2 separate regions of the Homo sapiens genome follow, and region 1 is linked to region 2. The links are contacts of gene promoters, found by promoter capture Hi-C in blood cells and fetal thymus (Javierre and others, 2016). All regions are on one chromosome and are shown on one strand. The core of a region is centred on a gene start or on the middle of the fragment in contact, and the rest is flanking DNA. Distances in the headings are between cores, read along the strand shown.

Region 1 (3,208 bases), core at 545-3,044, 660 kb before region 2:
CAGATGATCTGCCTGCCTTAGCCTCCCAAAGTGCTGGGATTACAGGCATGAGCCACTGCGCCTGGCTTTTCTTAAAATTTTTAATTTTGATTTTTTTTGAGACAGGGTCTCCCACTGTCACCCAGGCTGGAGTGTGGTGGCACAGTCACGGTTCACTGCAGCTACAACCTCCCATGCTCAGGTGATCCTCCCACCTCAGCCTCCCAAATAGCTGGGACTACAGGTACACACCACATGCCCAACTAATTTTTTGTTTTTGTTTTTTTGTAGAGACTGGGTCTTGCCATGTGGCCCAGGCTGGTCTTGAACTCCTGGGCTCAAGTGATCTGCCCACCTTGGCCTCCCAAAGTACTAGGATTTCAGGCATGAGCCACTATGCCTGGCCTGTAATCTTTCTTACCTTCTCTTGCCAGAGGGACAGCAGGTCCCAGGGGTATCACCATGGCCCAGGCTGTACACCCAGTCTATGTTGGCGACACTCACTTTGAGAGCTCCAGTGTCCATGCTGCTCAAGGGAGAGTCTGGATGCCACATAGGTAACCAGCGGCTGCAGGGAGAGGAGCAGTCTCCTACACACACAGCCTGCTTCCCTGACGCTGGGTGTGTGGAGAGGGAGCAGGGCCGTTGCTGTATTTAATGAGTTAATTCTCTCTTTCTTTTTTTTTTTTTTTTTTTTTTTTGAGACAGAGTTTCACTCTTGTCACCCAGGCTGTAATGCAACGGCACCATCTCGGCTCACTGCAACCTCTGCCTCCCGGGTTCAAATGCTTCTCCTGCCTCAGCCTCCTTAGTAGCTGGGGTTACAGGTGCCTGCCACCATGCCTGGCTAATTTTTATATTTTTAGTAGAGACAGGGTTTCACCATATTGGCTAGGCTGGTCTCAAACTCCTGACCTCAGGTGATCCACCCGCCTTGGCCTCCCAAAGTGCTGCGATTACAGGAGTGAGCCACCACGCCTGACCTTATGAGTTAAACCTTTAGTTTATGTCTTAGTCTACTTGTGCTACTATGACACAGTACCTGAGACTGGGTAACTTACAAAGCTCAGAAATTTATTTTCCCACAGCTCTAGAGGCTGGGAAGTCCCAGATCAAGGCGCCGGCACTCCATGTCTATAAGGGTTGCACTTTCTGCTCCCAAGAAGGTGCTTTGCTGTTGCATTCTCCAGAGGGGACAGATACCGTGTTCACACACAGCAGAACGCAGGAGGTCAAATAAGGGCCCTGCCAATTCCCTTGAGCCCTTCTATAAGGCACTATTTCATTCATGATAGTAGAGCCTTCATGACTTAATCCCTTCCCTCAAAGGCCCCACCTCTCAGTACTGTTGCACAGAGCATTCAGTTTAAACATGAACTCGGAGGGGACACAAACAAAAGATAGCCGTATATGATAGATGCATTTTGGCTCATTCAAGATCATCCCACCATGAATATGTCAGCAAACAAGGGGAAGTAAAACATTAGTATTACAAAATAACAAAAACTAACATTACTGAATGCTTCCTAGGCACAGGCACTGTCCTGAGAAGTTCATACATATTAACCCACTTATTTCAGACCTAGGGTATCTATTTTTTTTTTTTTTTAGACGGAGTCTTGCTCTGCCGCCCAGGCTGGAGTGCAGTGGTGCAATTTCTGCTCACTGCAAACTCTGCCTCCTGAGTTCAAGCGATTCTCCTGTCTCAGCCTCCTGAGTAGCTGGGATTACAGGCACCCGCCACCACACCTGGCTAATTTTTATATTTTTAGTAGAGATGGGGTTTCACCATGTTGGTCAGACTGGTCTCAAACTCCTGACCTCAGGTGATCCACTCGCCTCGGCCTCCCAAAGTGCTGGGATTACAGGCGTGAACCACTGCGCCCAGCCAAGTGTCTATTTTTATTATCCTCAATTTGCACTTGAGGAAACTGAGGACCTGAGATTATAGGTGATCTGCTCCTGGGCACACAGCCACTAAGAGATAGAGCCAAGATTCCCAACCACACTGCTGCTCTCTGGGGTTTTTGCCCATTGCACCTTCTGCCCTCTGGCCAGTCTCTGTTGTGCTTTGGTTTCCTAGTGCATCACAGCCTCGTGGAGTTTCACTTGAAGGAACTGAGAAACAAGGACACCAACATCGAGGTTACCTTCCTTAGCAGTAACATCACCTCTTCATCTAAGATCACCATGTACGTAAGTGTCCCACCTGGTTGACTCCTCCCCTTAGGAGTTGGTTACTTTTTCATTTTACACACATGGACATCCCAGGTCAGGGACTGTGTGATTGCTGATGCATGGGCCCAGCCGGCTTGGCTGGGGGCAGCACCTACTATAGATCCAGCCACAGACACATGCTGAGGAGCTGTTCAGTAGTGGGTCCAAGTATAGCAGATTCAGATGAGAGTAGGCAGGGCAAGCAGGCAGCAGGGATGGCATGTCCCAACAGATGGAGAGGACATAGGAATCAGGTCCCTGAGAGGAAACAGTACTCTGGAATCCAGACAGTGCGGGTATCAGGGATGTCAGTAGGGAGGAGGGCCTCAGTCACCAGCCCAGGAAGGGCTAGCCAGAGCCTGGAGAGCACCCACTCCTGGGAAAGGAGAGCAGTTCTGGGTCAGTTACCAGAATGGAATCTGAGGCACAGGGTCAGTCAGCAACGGAGTGCGAGCTGAGGGCCAGACTAGCGGCCAGGAGGGCTTGGTGCTGGGTGATTCCTGAAACTGGGGGTAGTCATTCCCTTCCTTTGTTGGGGCAGACTTGGGCTTGGGGGCTGGTGGGACTACGCTTGAAGTGAGAGGGCAAGGAACCCCAACTGTAGGGAGCCACAGCCTGCAGGGGATAGGAAGTCAGCAGCCATGGTGCATGCTTCTTTAAAAAGCAACCGGTTAGTTATTCACAAGCCAGCGGGAGACAGATTGTCAGATAATGTCACTGTCTCAGTGAGAGTCCGGTCAGGAAAACAGAGGAGGTCCAAGAGAAGGAATTTAGCACAGTGAACTCATTACAAGTGTGTTGGATGAGCTGGAAAACAGAGATGGGGACACAATGCAGAGATTAATCACAACAGGAGCCAATACAACCCTAGGCTAGAGGGACAAAGCAGGAGTGGAGTTGGCAAAGCTGGGTCCACAGGGAAGGCTGCTTGGCAGGAGCTGAACCCATGGGAAGTGCGGCCCCTCTGGAACCCCTGCCCAAAGCAGCCACCCACCTGAGCATGCTTCCACTG
Region 2 (3,399 bases), core at 10-2,509:
ATTGCCTTAACCTGTAAGCAAACGCTTCCCCAGCCATTTATCCGCAAGCGCATTTGCCCCACCTGCAGCAATGAAAGAAGCACTGTTTTTGCAAGCCGGGCTGCTACCCAGACTGCGAGGAGACATTCTGTGCAGAATTCAGCCACTGGTGGAGAAAAAGAAGTTTTTCTTTGCAGGCCTTGCTGCCTAATACAACTATATCAACAATTTCTCCCGCTGTGTAAGCCCCATCTGAAAATCTTTCCCTTTTATCTAGGATGCAAAAATGTAATGTTATCCTCCATATTCTGGTTTAAAGAACTACACCAGGAAAGACATTTTATGATAGGCTAGGGCATCATTTACCTCTAATTCAAGCATGCATGTACCTAGAAAACTAACAAAGGGGTAAGTTATGCCATGCCATGACTTCTCTTCCCAGATTTCTATCCTGAAATCTTAACAAAATTCGATTTTAAAAACCTCAAGGTTTGTATTCTTCACGAGTACATGGATACCTTGAGTTCTACCTAGAGGCCTCTAGTTTCTGACAGAGCTAACTTGGAAAGGGCTGCTTGCCAGGGTACAAGGATGTTGCAGCTTCCAGGTGACTCCCTCATGCCCAGAAGCAAGGCAGTTCAACAGACGCAGTGCAATACAATTGTCCCTTTTCAGGACTTTGCAATCTCCATGGGGGAGCCCATCGTGCCCGCCACTCTACACCCTGGGGGTGAACATGCCCTGCAAAGCAGATTCGGCGTGAGGAGACTCTGGAAAGTCTACAGGCGGTGGGAAACTGTTTCGGGATCTCTCATTTTCAGCACAGCCGGTCGCTTATTCAGCAGAAAACCCACGGCCCCATCTTCACACCAAATTACAGTACTCTCCCGTCTCTTCCACTGAAATTGCCACTCGCATCCCTGATGCGTGACCCCTGCTCACCTCAAGTTCCTATGAGAGTTTCTTTACCGGTTCCAAACAAACTGCCCAGATTCTGGAAAGGGAGAGAAAGCCCCTCCCCCTTTCCACTTTCACTTAATAATTAAGTGTTTGAAGTTTTGTGGATCCTTAAGGTCGCTGTGCTCACCTCATCAGCGTCGGACCGCCGAGAAGCGCCAAGCCCGCTGCTATGTGCAGGACGCCCACGGTCCCCCGGCGTCTCGCGCGTTCGCGGGGCTGGAAGGGGCGGGAAGGGGCGGGCCGGGGCAGAGACAGGGGCCCGCGCCCATCGCCGCGCCGGGAGCCTGGCGTGGAGGCGGCGGGACGGCGGCGCAGGCCTCTGAGGTGTGCGCGGGGCGCCGGGCGCCTCTGGCCGGGGCACTGGCTGAGCCACGCCTGCCCGCCCCTCCCTGGCGCCGCCCGCGTGGCGCGCCTCGACCCTGCTCTCCCGCGAGGGCCGGGAGGGCTCCGGGACCTTGCAGACTCCACGCGCCTCACGGCTCCTCCAGCTCCTCGGATCTTTCTCCTTGCGTCGCCGCCGAGTCCCCTGGGGCGGCCCCGCCTCCGGCCGTCTCCTCAGAGACCTTCCCTGGGGGGCGCCTTCCCCTCAGCGCCCCTTCCCGGGCCTCGAGCCAGCGGCTGCCGCAGGAGCTGGCCCCGGGGCGAGGAGCTTCAGATTCAGGTCCCTAGCCGGCCTCGGTAAGGAGACTGGAAGGATTCTCCGCGAATGCTCATTTTTATTTCTGGAGTGGCGTCGGAGTTACCAATTAGTTTTCTTATTTTATACTCTCTGGAGTTGCCAAATTCTTTACGTTGAGCTTTTGCTTATTTTATAATCAGAAAGACAAGTACGTTTCTTTTTCCAAGAATGCTTACAGGAGGCCACAAACAAGATGTTCGCACCCAGCCCACTGTCTTCCGCTTAAAAATATGTGTGAGATGTTGTGTTTAAGACACCCTCAAGGAGAAACATAGAGGGGAGACCTGGAAATGGTCTTGGGAATCCACTTAGACTTTCCATATTATATTTGTTTCATTTATTTTAAAATCTCAGACCTATTTATGTGCATTAGGACATTCCACATTTTTACAACTGCGCAGAGGAAATCTTTGGTTGTAGAGGACGGGAAGAGAGAGGCCAGGTCCGCAGACCCCACTGTGACAAGACAGTGGCTACATTCTTAACTGTTTTACACATTGTGATACCCAAAGACTTCTTTTCACAGGATTCTACTGAGGGGGAAAACAAGAGGAAGAAAGAAAGATAGACAAGGTTTTCCTCAAGGCAGTAAGCAAAAAGCTGGTTTCTCAGAAGAAAGAATTATGTCTGAGATTTTACCCAGGACTCTCCAGATCTCTCATTCTACACAGAAGGACCCTTTCATTTGGAACGTGCAGAAACTGAGGAGGACCATCTCTCTCCTCCATGGGGGCTGCCTGAGTTAAAAAGGCCTGGGTCCATCTTTTTTCCGTAGGAGAGCTGACTTCAGAGTCTAGAGCCAAATCTTCACTTCTGTGGCTCTAGATTGAGGATTTGCCCTTCTGATCTCTGTGGGGCTTTTTTTTTTTAACCTGGGAATTCCCCTGGGCTCTTCGGCTGTTATTCTCATCAACCCCTCTCTATATTCTGCAAGACATTGAAATCTTTCTCCCAGCTTGGCCCCCACCTCCAATCCCAGTATTCTCTTTTCTGAGATTGGAGTATTTCCAACCCCTCAGTTGCCAGGCACTGAAGGTTTTCATCTTCCAGGCCTGCCATGTTTACCTCTGAGATGTTTCTGGCAACTGTCCACTTCTCTGCATTCTCACACTGCTGCTCTTGATAAGCTTCGATTATCTGGGGCTGAATTGTTTCAATAATTTCCTAACTGATTTTCTTGCCTCCTATCTGTCCCCACCACCAACATAGACTTAAGAATGTCACTCTCTTGACAAAACAAGCCAACATCCTCTATCCTCTGTCCCACTCCCAAACCTGCAGTAACTTTCCTGTGCAATTGTAATACAGTGTAAACTTTCATAAGGATGGGGAGTGGCCAAGATGGCTGACCAGAAGCAGGTAATGTACATGGCTCTCACGGAGAGGAACAGAAGGGACGAGTAGATACAACACCTTCAACTGAAACATCCGGGTACTCGCATTGGGATTAATCAAGGAAACAACCTGACCCACAGAGAACAAGGAAAAGCAAGACAGGACAACAGCCCACCTGGGAGCAACAGGGAACCAGGGGATCTTCCCCTGCCCAGGGAAGTGGTAAGTGAATGAGCGACCCCGGAAACCATGCTTCTCCCACAGATCTTTGCAACCCTCCTGTCAGGAGATCTCCTTGTGAATCCACTCCACTAGCAGCAGGGCCTTCAGTCTTCAGTCTGGCAGACAGGGCTACATGGAGTCTCAGCAAAGCAGCCACTCAGGCATGCGTGGAGACCCTGGAGGCTTAGATACTTGGGCGTTCTGGCAAAAGTAGCTGCATCTCC

Evidence for each region. The method cuts DNA at HindIII sites, captures the fragments that hold promoters and counts their contacts. A CHiCAGO score of 5 or more calls a contact.
Region 1: a contact is called between a fragment that was not itself captured here and the fragment with the promoter of GPR156 in region 2, in 1 of 17 cell types (neutrophils). The highest score is 5.2, in neutrophils.

Annotation. Positions count from the first base shown.
Region 1 is chr3:119,623,062-119,626,269 of GRCh38, forward strand. It overlaps PLA1A (phospholipase A1 member A), which reads left to right. Exons shown (of 11, transcript NM_015900.4): 9 at 2,063-2,171. Among named protein-coding and RNA genes, the nearest start is that of PLA1A, 27 kb to the left of the region's middle. RefSeq lists an enhancer at 1,064-1,263. The HindIII fragment of the contact is 5,078 bases long and covers 1-3,208 here.
Region 2 is chr3:120,283,963-120,287,361 of GRCh38, forward strand. GPR156 (G protein-coupled receptor 156) reads right to left here and starts at 1,260. Exons shown (of 10, transcript NM_153002.3): 1 at 1,067-1,260. LOC124909418 (a long non-coding RNA gene) reads left to right here and starts at 1,194. Exons shown (of 2, transcript XR_007096029.1): 1 at 1,194-3,175. The HindIII fragment of the contact is 9,811 bases long and covers 1-2,743 here.